Regions from separate parts of the Homo sapiens genome. Here region 1 is linked to region 2. Evidence: promoter capture Hi-C in human tissues and cell types (Jung and others, 2019). All regions are on one chromosome and are shown on one strand. Each heading gives the region's core, a stretch centred on a gene start or on the middle of the fragment in contact. The rest is flanking DNA. Distances are from core to core; before and after follow the strand shown. Region 1 overlaps BPIFB4 (BPI fold containing family B member 4). Region 2 holds the start of BPIFA1 (BPI fold containing family A member 1).

Evidence for each region. The method cuts DNA at HindIII sites, captures the fragments that hold promoters and counts their contacts. A contact is called where the count stands out against the background at its distance.
Region 1: a contact is called between a fragment that was not itself captured here and the fragment with the promoter of BPIFA1 in region 2, in 1 of the 25 tissues and cell types used here (mesendoderm cells).

Annotation. Positions count from the first base shown.
Region 1 is chr20:33,100,452-33,106,483 of GRCh38, forward strand. It overlaps BPIFB4 (BPI fold containing family B member 4), which reads left to right. Exons shown (of 18, transcript NM_182519.3): 14 at 1-42; 15 at 2,521-2,563; 16 at 4,359-4,422. Among named protein-coding and RNA genes, the nearest start is that of BPIFB4, 24 kb to the left of the region's middle. The HindIII fragment of the contact is 8,468 bases long and covers 139-6,032 here.
Region 2 is chr20:33,232,988-33,239,423 of GRCh38, forward strand. It overlaps BPIFA1 (BPI fold containing family A member 1), which reads left to right and starts at 3,009. Exons shown (of 9, transcript NM_130852.3): 1 at 3,009-3,063; 2 at 4,710-4,884; 3 at 5,068-5,227. The coding sequence starts at 4,725. The HindIII fragment of the contact is 6,820 bases long and covers 1-5,345 here.

The DNA of each region.
Region 1 (6,032 bases), core at 3,123-5,622, 130 kb before region 2:
CACAGAAGGAGATAAGCTCATGATTGATGCCAAGCTGGAGAAGTAAGGGGCTATGCTGCCTTGGGGTCCTGACGGTGCTGGTGCTGCTCATGGAGGAGCCACCAGGGAGCGGGTAGAGGTCTCCTGTGTGGCCATCAGGGCTGGGTAAACCCAAGGGGCTGCAAAGGTGACGATGGCTCATGCCTACCATTACCACTGTCACAAGCCAGGCAAGGTGGGTGAAGCCGTGAACTTAGAAAGAAACTACTGCCAAAATCAACAGTCAGTAATAATGATGCTGGGGTGTGGGCACAGTAGCCCATGCCTGTAGTCTCAGTGCTTTGGGAGGCCGAGGCTGGAGGACTGATTGAGGCCAGGAGTTTGAGACCAGACTGAGAAACATAGCAAGACACCATCTCTACAAAAATAGAAAAATTAGCTGGGCATAGGTACACACGTGTAGTCCTAGAAAAAATTAGCCGGGCTTGGTATCCATGTGCCTGTAATCCCAGCTACTCAGGAGGCTGAGGCAGGAGCCCAGGAGCTTGAGGTTGTGGTGAGCTATGATTGTGCCACTGCACTCCAGCCTGGGCAACAGAGCAAGACCCTGTCTCTAAGTAACAGTGATGATGATGAGGAGGAGGACGAGGAGGAGGAGGAGGATGCTGGTGATGATGACATACCAGGCTCTGCTCTATGTACTTGAAGTGTACGTATTATCTTGTTTCTCCCCTCTGATGGTCCCAGTGGAAGTCAGGGCTATTATTCTCCCTTTGTAGGGAGAAAACTAGGGCTGGAAACAGTGGATTTACTTACCCAGGGCCACCCAGCAAGTACATAGAGGGGCTGTGAGCCAACCCAGGTTCATGTGACCTGCTGCATTGGATGGGTACAATCATGCGCTTTGGAGCCAAGCAATATGGGTTCAAATCCTGATGTGACCACTGACTGACTGTGTGATATTGGCCAACCAACTTCACTCTGAGCCTCAGTTTTCTCATCTGAAAATGGGGATAATAGTCACTACCTCGTAAGATTCATAAAAAGAATAATTATTATTCATTGGATGCTTTCCGTGTGCCAGGTATTTGGCTAAGTCCTAGGTGTGTCTTCATTTAATTCTTTCTTTTTCTTTTCTTTTGAGCCAGGAGCTCGCTCTGTTGCCCAGGCTAGAGTACAGTCACGGCTCACTGCAGCCTTGACCTCCCCAGCTCAAGCGATCCTCCTACCTCAGCCTCCCAAGTAGCTGAGATTACAGGCATGCACCACCACGCCAGACTAATTTTTATATTTCTAGTAGAGACGGGGTTTCGCCATGTTGGCCAGCCTGGTCTTGAACTCCTGGGCTCAAGTGATCTGCCTGCCTCGGCCTCCCAAAGTTCTGGGATTATGGGCATGAGCCACTGCACCCGGCCTTCCTTTAATTCTTGATATAAGCCTATGGAAATAAGTACTATCATTATTTCCATTTCAAGATTAAATGAGGTCATATGTAAAATTTTTAGCATGTGACTAGATCATTGTAAGCTTTTCTTTTACAACCAATATTTCTTAAGCCCACCAATGGCAGTTACTCGTGATTAATATAGTGCACATCAGAGACATCCAGGAGTTCCCAAGGAGGCAAGATTCAGCCTGCAGCCTGGATAAGGAGTAGGGGCCAGCTGGGCAAGAGCTGGGTATTTCCTGCAGGGAGAGCAGCATGGGCAAGCTTCGCAGAGAGGAAAAGGGCACGGATACTGTGGGGTGCGGTGCCTGAGAGGGAGAGAGGCTGGGTAAGGAAGTCAGGAAGGAAGAAAACATGTCCCAAGCGGAGAGTCTTGTTTCCTTAGAAGGTACCTTTATTTCCCTCCTGCTGGACACCGAGCTGATGCTTCTGAACAGCCCCGAACGATTTCCGCCCCACGGGCAAGCCCGGTCTGGCCTCTCTCGGGTAGGACTGTCAGCTGTATTGAGATTCAGGTGCAGCAAGACGGAGGCCCTTATAGAGCAGAGCGAGACCTCAAACCCCGGCCTCAGCCTCCCATCTCAGAACAGCACAACAGTGAGAGTGCAGGTTCAGGGTGCGAGGCCTAGGCTATCCCTCCCTGGCTCTGTGGCTGCAGTAAATTACCCTGGAGCCTGCTCCACTGGAGGGCTGGAAGGATTACACGAGGTGATGGTGATCACTCATGCACCTATGGCAGGGCTCTGGAGCAGCGCTTTATGGGAATATCCCCTTTAGTCCTAGCAGCCACCCACTTTGCAGATGAAGAAACTGAGGCATAGAAAGGTAAAGTACCTTGACTAAGGTCACAAAGCTAGTAGGTGGCAAAGCTATGATTTGAGCCTTCTCCGTGTGGTGCATGAAGCCCTTAGCATGGTGTCCGACGTGTAGTTAGCGCTCAGCATGTGAGAGCCAGCATTGTTCTTATTAAATCCCTGCAGGTGGAGAGTGATCGTGAGGATAGTGGAGGGGCTTCTCACAATTTGTTGCAATGCAAGAGCCTTATGATTTTCAGGCAATCCCTGCTTCTCACAGGCTGTTTTCTTCGTCTACAGGACCAGCCTCAACCTCAGAACCTCAAACGTGGGCAACTTTGATGTAAGTACCATGTTTAGTTCCCAGGGCAAGATCTTCTGGGAAGGAGCCCAGGACGTGTCTTCCGGGAATGGTGTTCCTGTGAGGCTGGCTGGGCATGGGGAGTTTGTGAATTCCAAAGTGCTCCCGTCAACACTATCAGCCCTCATTTTGCAGATGGACAGATGTAGAAACTGAGGCCCACAAGGCAAGTGAGGGGCAGAGGACAGACTCACAGCTCCTTCTACTCTGCCTCGGGTGCTGTCCCATGTTAACTGGCTGCCCCATGGGGGGCCACTTGGCCCAAATCGCTCCATTTCAGGGTGGGGAGGCACAGTGGGCAGCCTTGTCCTACAGGACCACTTTCCTTCTGGAGTTAGGAGCCCACTGACTCCTGTGTGACCTTGAGCGATATCAACCCACTCTGAGCCTCAGTTTCCCCATCTGTAAAATGAATACAATTTGAGTTCATTTCTAACCTCCCTTCTTGCCCCTGGGTTGTGGAATTCTGCTTTTCCAAGGGTCCAGAAATCTGAGATGCTCACATTCTAGCGTTGGGTCCTGTTTTATCTCTTTGTTCACTCTTGGGTGCCCCACCCCCACCTAAGGCTTCAGAAACACTCCTTCCTCCCCACCCCCCCACCTCCGCTTTTTATAAATTGACAACTAAGCATCTGCTAGCTTTCTGGGACAAGCTTGGATGAGATCTCCACATGTGCAGAAAAAGTCAAACCCATTCATTGTGTTGCTAATTTTATAGCTTTTCTAACCCAAAAAGCTACAGCCTGTGAAGCCGATCTTGCCAGCTTCATTTTATAAGGATAAACTGCCCAAGGCTTCCCAGCTGGTTGGGGCAGAGTTGGGATTAGAACTGAAATCTCTGGACTCCAAGTGAAGAAAGGGGCTGACAGTGTAAAATTAATGAATTAATGAAGCTATCGAGATGGGCCCTAGGCACTGAATTATGCTTTTTTTTCTCTTTTAATGAGGTTTTCTCATTTAATCCTTACCACCGTGTTATGATTTGGGTATTATTATTACACCCATTCTTCCAAATAAGGAAGGTAAGCTCAAGTGACTTGCCCAAGGCAACAGAGCTAGGAAGAGGCACTGCCGGAAAGTGAGTCCATGCCCTCACCCTCTGCAGACTGGAACATCAGGCATGTTACATATAGGGGCTTATGTCTGATTTTTATAACCACCCTATGAGGCAAGGGTTACTCACTCCTGTTTTCAGATGTGGAAACCAAGGCTTAGAGAAGTTAAGGGAGGTAACATATGAAAAGGCTCAAGGCCAGGAGTTTTACGTGATCTACCCACCATCCTCACCGCATCCTTGCAAACTCAGCTCACTGACCCATTTTACAGCTGAGGAAGCTGAGGGTTAGAGAGGTGAAGGAGCCTGCCCAGAGGCCCACGGAGACTGAGCTGGGATGGGAACCTGGGGTGTTGGCTCCAGGGCCATTGGGACTTCTGTGATGCCATGACAGTGCCATCGGGGCCAGGCCACCCTGAAACCTGTGCTCTGTGCCTCCCAGGGGAGGAACTAGGCCTCCCTCAATCCCTGCTTCATAGGGGCCTTGGGCCACCACCCATGCTGGGCCTCAGTCTGCCCATCTGCACAATGTGCAAGTTGATGGGGGGCACCTTAAGGCTGCCGGTGAGAAATTCTGGGGTCTCAGGGGTTCTGACTGCCAGAACCTAGACTCTCCCAGAGCAGGTCTGTGTCTCCACCTTGAGCCAGGGGAGCAGACCCAAGGGGCCCTCTGGAGCTGAGCAAACCCCCTGCCCAGGCTCTGTCCTCCTTCTTCCTCTGCAGATTGGCCTCATGGAGGTGCTGGTGGAGAAGATTTTTGACCTGGCATTCATGCCCGCAATGAACGGTGAGAGCGGGTGCCTGTGCCTCTCTGGGAGCTTGTGGCTTGGGTACTGGGGGATACTGGCTTGTTGGGCATGCTGGATGTGCATCTATCCTACCTCAATAGTATTTCTGAGCACTTCCTTTGAAGCGTGTCGATGAAAGCCTCCAAATCCAAACGTGGCCCCCAAAGTTCCAGCACCTTCCTTATTTGCTTCTTTCTTGTTTGGCTGATTGTTTTATTTTTCTGATTATCTATGAAAATTCCGATTATGTATTAACATTGTGTGTGTGCAAGTTTTAGAAAATATAAAACAATTTAAAAAAAACTCACCTCGCAGAGGCAATGAATCTCAACATCTGAGCATATTTCCTTCTAAACTCTTTTTCTCCATTGTTTTCCCATATGATTGAGATCTTTCCTGACTCATATTTAAACATGTATTTATTTTTAATGATACAGGAACTACAGGAATACATTCTTATTGTGAAAAGTTCCATTGGCGCAGATACAGCTAAAGTTGCTCTTATCGACATCCCCAGCCTCCTTCCTAGCCCAGAATCTGCCCCCCTAGGGAACCACATCAAGTTAGGAGGTTTTCTTGCCCAACTTTATAAACAGAGTAGACTGAGCTTGCTTTGCTCTCTGGGGCGTCTCAGGAATGTTACTGGGAAGGCTGCTTGTTGAACTATGGGGGTCATTGGCTACTCACATACTGGGACTGGGAAACTGCCCAAGCCCTGGGGTCACTGGGCCCCAGACTCTCTCCCACTCCTGCTTCCTGGATGAGAAGACAAGGAGGGCTGGCACATCCCAGCCAATGTCATCAGCTACACCAGCGGGGGTTCTGTTGGAGCCATCTTGATGTCAAACAAACCCTTGTTCTGGGCCCTGTGGTCAGAGGAAGCCGAGTCTCACTGGTGGGGAAAGTGGTGGTTTCTCTGTGAGAGGATGGGGTCAGGGGCTGGGCTGGGCTGACCTGGGAGGGAAGAGACGGAGCGTCTTGCCTGGCTTAATCACTAAGAGTGGTGTGAACTTGGGGGCGAGTCTTTTAATCATACTGAAGTGCAATTCACCATTTTCAAAATGAGAGCTTGGACAAGGTCCATAGTCCCCAAAGTGAGCTCCGTAAAGCAGTCCCACAAAATACCCTGCAAAAAGCGTTCCATGGCCGAGCAAGTTTGGGAAGTGCTGAAGATACTCCTGCAGGGTAGATTCACAATGTCCTTAGCTTTTTGAAAAGTCCTGCTGGAATAGAGAAGTCTGTTAAATTTCACTTAATTTACTTCCCCCATCCACTCTTTCCTACCCCACTTCTTTTTCTCTCTTCCTGCTCTCTTTCTAGAACAGTAATTAGCAGGTTTACTTAGGCTCTGACAATCTGAAAACAAACAGCACATCCCACGGCAGAGTCAATGGCTAGGGCTCCACGTGCACTTTCCATTACTTCACTCGGCAAACATTTGCCATCTCCTCTATGACTGGGCGAAGGGCTGGGTGATGCTGGGGACACAGCTCTTTTCTTTCTTTTTTTTTTTTTTGAGATGGAGTCTCACTCTGTGGCCCAGGCTAGAGTACAGTGGCACGATCTCGGCTCACTGCAACCTCTGCCTCCCAGGTTCAAGAGACTCCCC
Region 2 (6,436 bases), core at 1,759-4,258:
GACCATACCACTAAAAGAAGTCAATTTTACTGTAAGTTTTTTTGTTTTTATAGTCTTGGCTTTTGACTTGTTAAACTCAGGGCATAGGAGAGTCTGAGAACAGCATACACACAATGAAGTTGAAGCAAATCTTCCTGCCCACAAAACTAGAAAATGCCCTATGTTGGGTTGGTGAAGTGTGAGGGTCCAGGAGAACTGGAAGGAGCATAGTTCTGGTGGGTTCTGATGGTGCCTCCGTCCCTTGCTGCTCCCAGGCAGACCTGAGCATGGGATGAAGGGAACAGAATCCCAGGCACATGTATGGGATCCAGGGACAGAGGGCGTCTGTGTCCACACTCCCTCCCAGAGCCAGAAGAGGGCATGAGACCCCAGGGAGAGAAGGGTAAAGGGAGGGTCTAGGTGGATCCAGGCAGGAGGGCTTGGGCAGCCCCTCACAGTCCTGTATCAGGCCCAAGGAACTGGCGAACAGCAGAACAATTCTGTGTCTTACAAACGAGTTGAAAGTAAATGCTAAATCCAAAGGGACCTTTCACCAGGAGGGAAGTACAGTGTCTCTGCAATCTAGGGGCAGATGGCACATGGCTGTCTCCTATATTGCCAGCCAAAAATAGGGACAGGCAGCCTCCTTGGTACAAACAAAGCCCCTAGCACAGACATGAAACCCCAGGGGGAAATTGGGACATTTCTGTTCCTGAGCAAAATGGCATTTGAAATGGTAAAGTATAGATAAATCAGAAAGATGTGTGGACGCCTGAGTTTATGAACTGTGATTCATACCAGCTCCCCAGACATCATCTCCCCATAGCCCTGTGAGGCAGATTTTATGCTCCCCATTTTACAGGTGAGGAAACTGAATGAAGTTCAGGGAACTGGACTGACTTGCCCAGGGTCGTAGGATTTGAACCAGGGCTGTTTGAGCCCAAATTCACCCACTTTCTGCTGCAATACAGACACAGCCTCCCGGCCTCAAACCAGAGGGTGTAAGCTTTCATTAACTGGCTGCACAAACTCTACTAATTCCTTGCCTTATCTGCCTCAGTTTCCCCACAAGGATAGTAGCAACCTGACCCAACCCACAAGAGTTATACGATGGGACCACTGTGAGGATGATTGCCATGTACAAGATGTGGGCAGAGTCCAGCAAGTACCTTGAATGGATAATTAAGTTCAAAGCCATGGCCCCAAACCCTTGGGGGCACCACCCAGACTCTGGAGAGCAGTGGAGCAGGCCAGTGAAGGCCTAGTGTGAGGGAGGCAGTGTGGCCCACTGATTAGCAGGGACTCAGACAGACACAGAGGGTGGCAGGGTCAATTGACTCCAACACTCACTCGCTGTGTGTCCCCAGGAAGCAGTCACCCTTTCTGATCCTCAGCCTCCTCATCCAATGTATGAGAGACAACAATACCAACCACTCCTGAAGAAGATGAGGTTCAAATATGGAGAGCACCTGGCATGCAGTCAGTGCTTAATAAAAGCACATTTATTCCTTCTCTCTCCACTTTTGCTTATAAGGTGTTAGGTTTTGCAGGGTAAGAGCTGCGCTCACTGGTCCAGGACCTTGGCCTTCCTGTGTCTTCACTTTTTCATCTGCTGAACAGACTCCAAGGGCCCCAGTGGTGGGGATAAATAAATGCCTGATTACTCCATTTAGGGAAAGGTAGAAGAAAGGGTAGGATAGAGACCAGGATGCCAAAGGATCCCTCAGGCCTGGGAACCTGGAAAGACTTTTCCAGGACCTAAAAGAGAAGCGGCGGGGCACTGTGGCTCACGCCTGTAATCCCAGCACTTTGGGAGGCTGAGATAGGTGGATCACCTGAGGTCAGGAGTTCGAGGACAGCCTGGCCAACATGGTGAAACCCCATCTCTACTAAAAATACAAAAACTTTGCCAGGCATGGTGGCGCTCGCCTGTAGTCCCAGCTGCTCAGGAGGCTGAGGCAGGAGAATCACTTGAACCCGGGAGGTGGAGGTTGTCATGAGCTGAGATCACACCACTGCACTCTAGCCTGGGCGACAGAGTAAGACTGTCTCAAAAAATAAAATAAAATAAAAATTAAGTGAAAATTTAAAAAATAAAAAGGGACGCATGAAAGTGTAAAGTTCACAGGTGGGGAAATCAAAATGGCCAGCAAGTGTTGGGAGGCACCTTCATCTCTCAGTGCAGTGATTCGGGGAAAGGACCTGAATGTGGATGTCTCACCCCAGGCAAGCACTGCATCTCTGGACAACTTGCCTCACACTCAGCCTCAGTTTCCCCCTTATAGAATAGGAGTACAGGGTTGTGAGGATTTTGTGAGATGCTGCCTGTGAACACCATGGCAGGCCAGGCATACAGCAGGAGCTCGGCCAGTGTCTGCTGTTGGCGTTGTTTTTGTTGTTTTCATTCTCCAGTCAGTTGCATTCTAACTCTGCTGCATCCTCTCTGGGTCTTTCAGCACTTGTCCCCACTGGATCTCAGTTTCCTCCTCTATAAAAGAGGAGGAGTCACCTCTCCCTCTCAGGGTTCTTGTGAGGACAGAGAGCTCCTGACGTGCAATAGGGGCTCTGAAAACAGGAGACCCTTGCCCTGGAATGGAGACGCACCCCAGATGTAGGATGCAGTGTGACTCTTTTGACATTTTAGGAGAAAGAATCCTCCAACTGGAGCAAAAAAATTAGAGCAGGAGAGGAAAGGGGCCAAGAGATGAGACTGAGGTCCCTTCCTGGGCTCTGTCTGGCTGCTCCTTTCAATGCTCCAAGCTACCTTGGGAGCGTGGGTCCCCAACCTTGGCTCCGCTCAGGAAACCATAAAGTCTTGAGTAACATCCCATCTCAGGTTTTTCTCTGTTTATCTTGTTGACCAAATAGCTTAACTGTCTCACCTGCTAATGTGATTGGCAATTATTTACTTTGGAGAGCCCTGAAAGACACTGTCAGATTGCAGAATTCTCAATTATCTAGAAACCCATCACCCAACACATGCTTCCTCGTCCCCATACTATAAAAGAGGCTGACTCCTCGGCAGAAGTGAGTGGGGGAGAGAGAGGAGACCAGGACAGCTGCTGAGACCTCTAAGAAGTCCAGGTAAGAGCCATCCATTCTGTGGCCCCTCTGCTACCCTTAACGGCAGGGATCTCAGGCTCCTGCCCTGTGGGGCAGTGAGTGATCTTGATCACTCACTGGGGGCTGTGCAAGAGAAACAGACCTGGCCAATGTCAGGGATGTGGGGATGGCCATTTGCTCTGCTGTCCTAAGAGACCAGTAACATTGATATAGAAATGGGCACTATTAATGCCGTAAATGAAAGCCTCTAAGGCATAAGTTTTAGCTTGAGGTTACCAATGTGGATACAGATGATCCAAAAACCTCCTAAAATTCTTCACCCAATTTTATACATTTTGATGCATTTTTTCTGAGACTAGGATCTTTAGCTTCCATTGGATTCATAAAGGGTCTGTTGCCCAAAAGAGATTCAGAGGCTGTGGTCAAAGTTACCTCCCTAAGAAGGGCACAACTGGCTCTTTGGACCAAAGACCTTTCATTTCCAGCCTTCCACCACAAGGATGGAGCTTTAGCTGAGTCAGCCAATAGATGGAATTTTGCACAAAGTCACCAGTTGTCTCCAAATTGTAGGTACTAGTGCTGGCTCTGGACAACTCTGCTGGCTGCCAAATAGACCTGTGAGAGGTCTGCAAGCCAAACCTCAGGGGTTGACCGGAATTCCATCCAGGGCAGCTTGAAGGAGAAGAGAAAGGTGTCAAAATGATAGAATGCATGTTTGTGTGTTGGGTGAGGGGAGGGTTGGGAGACCTGCCTTCAACCACAGCTCTGCCATCAATTTATTGTATGACCTTGGGAAAGTCACTACCCCTCTTTGGTCTCCTGGTTCTTCTCATGCAATGAAGACTTTGATGGCCCCAGGAATTCCCCAACAAAGGTCTACATGAGATGGTGGCTGTGGCCATGCGACCCCTGTATTGTGTGACTTTCAAGGGCATCCACCAACCATCATGGCCTGAGCTCAGGCCAAAGGACTGAACAGGGATGATCTAAAACAGTTCAATTCTTCAGCACTTGCACGTTTAACCCTTCTCATTTGCTTTGTCTGAAGAGCAGCAATGATTCAAACCATTGAAGCAAGCCCGATTGGAGAATAAATCTGATGGTTACTTAATTTAACCGAGGGTTCACCTGGCTCTAGCTTCTAATCCTCTGTCCACCGTGTACTTGTGACCTTGGGGAAAGTTACCCACACTCGGTAGTACACAAGTGGGTTTCAAGAAGGGATGGGAGTATATTTGAAACTCCCAACTGCAAACTCACTTGACCTCTGTGAGCCTTGGTTTCTCCTACTGGAAAATCAGACAAGTGAACTGTGGGCAAGATGGAGTGAGGTGAGGCTGGGATTCTTGGCAAGAAGGAAAAAAACCCTCTTCTTTGGAATGTGGTGGAGTGGGGCTGTCTCCTTTTTAGGCCCCTGATCAGTGGTCCTCACCTGTGCAATGCAGGTAACAGGTGCCCATGTCTTAGGGTTGTGATGAAGATGAAATTGTGTAAAGTGGTCAGCCTGTTGCCTGGCAAAGAGAAATTGTTCAGCAGTATTAGCTATTACTAGTGACCCCCTGGTGTTCTGGGGAGCAAACAACCCCACCCCCCAGGTGTCAGGGCAGGTGGTGGATAAATTCCTCTCTGATACCCATGCCATGTTGGACTTGTCATTCTGGCCACAGATACTAAGAGCAAAGATGTTTCAAACTGGGGGCCTCATTGTCTTCTACGGGCTGTTAGCCCAGACCATGGCCCAGTTTGGAGGCCTGCCCGTGCCCCTGGACCAGACCCTGCCCTTGAATGTGAATCCAGCCCTGCCCTTGAGTCCCACAGGTCTTGCAGGAAGCTTGACAAATGGTGAGTTTTCAGGGGTGTATGTGTGCATGTGTGTGTGTGTGTGTGTGTGTGTGTGTGTGTGTGTGTGTGTGTGTGTGTGTCCAACCCTGCAAAGTGGGGAGGGACAGGGCTGGATGGGGGAGGGGGCCTGAGGATCTGGAATTGTCAGATCTGACCCCCAGAGACCCTTACACCCATTTCCAGCCCTCAGCAATGGCCTGCTGTCTGGGGGCCTGTTGGGCATTCTGGAAAACCTTCCGCTCCTGGACATCCTGAAGCCTGGAGGAGGTACTTCTGGTGGCCTCCTTGGGGGACTGCTTGGAAAAGTGACGTCAGTGATTCCTGGCCTGAACAACATCATTGAGTGAGTTGTCCTAAAATAGAGCTTTGATCTCCACCAGGGAACCCCAGGTGAAGATCTGCCAGCCCCAGGCAGTGACCCTGAAGCAGCGACCCTGAAGCAGCGAGGGAGCGGCCTGAAGATGGAGCCAGGACTCAGTTCTGAGACCCATCTCCAGTTTGGCAGGGACACCCGTCCTCCCCAAACCAGCAATGCCCTCAGTTCTAGGCATGTCCTGAGGCCCCAGCATCATCTATAATCCTCACCACAACCCTTTGAGGTCGATTTAATAATCTCCAGTTTGCAAATGGGAAAACCAAAGCACAGAGGTGCCTGTGTTCACGCTGCTAGAGTGATGCCAAGTGAGTAAGGCTCTCACTCTACTATCCTAACTCCAAAGCCAAGGCTCTTCCCACTACACTGTGGTCATTTTGTTCTCTGCACCTGTGAAATCCCTTAGAACACAGACGGCCTTTGATGTTAGCGAGAGTATAACCTGCCCACCTTGATGATATCAATGTGATGAAAAACAGTGTGATGTCCATGGAAAGGTCTAACGTGGAGTTTCCCATGAGACACCCAAGAGCTCGCAAAGCAAAAAGCAAGAATGGAAGCTTGATGCCAGTGAGCCGGCAGAGCCTGGTTCCTGGATAGGACTGGATCAAAGCCATTTCCAAAATCCTACCCACCCAGGGTCTCACTCCCTGACTTGGAGACAGACAGACTTCTTGACTTTGATTTTCAAATGTACTTGTTGGATGACCTGGGACAGGACACCCTGTCTCTCTGTGCTTGGTTTCTCCATCTGTAAAATATAGATTATAGAACCCACAGAGAAAGTGTATTGTGAGGACTGGAAAAGGTGTAAATCACCTGGCGCAGTGGCTGGCTCAGTGAATGGCCTCACCCATCAAATGGCCTCCCTGCTTGATGGGTGCGGTCACAGGCCTGGCTTCTCCTGGAGACAACAGGGTGTGATGATGGATGGATGGTTGGAAAGATAGGACAATGGGAGAATGGCTTCCTTCCACCCTTTCTGCACTCTCCCTGACTTCCTGCTCCTCAATTCCCATGATAAACATTGGTGATTGGCCACCTGACAGGGTGAGTGATTCTTACCCATAAATGTTTGTGCAGATTTACTTCCAGTTGCACCTGCATCATCCATTCATCCACTGACCAATCCATCATCCAGTTATCCATCCTTCTACCTAATCACTTACTCTTCCATCC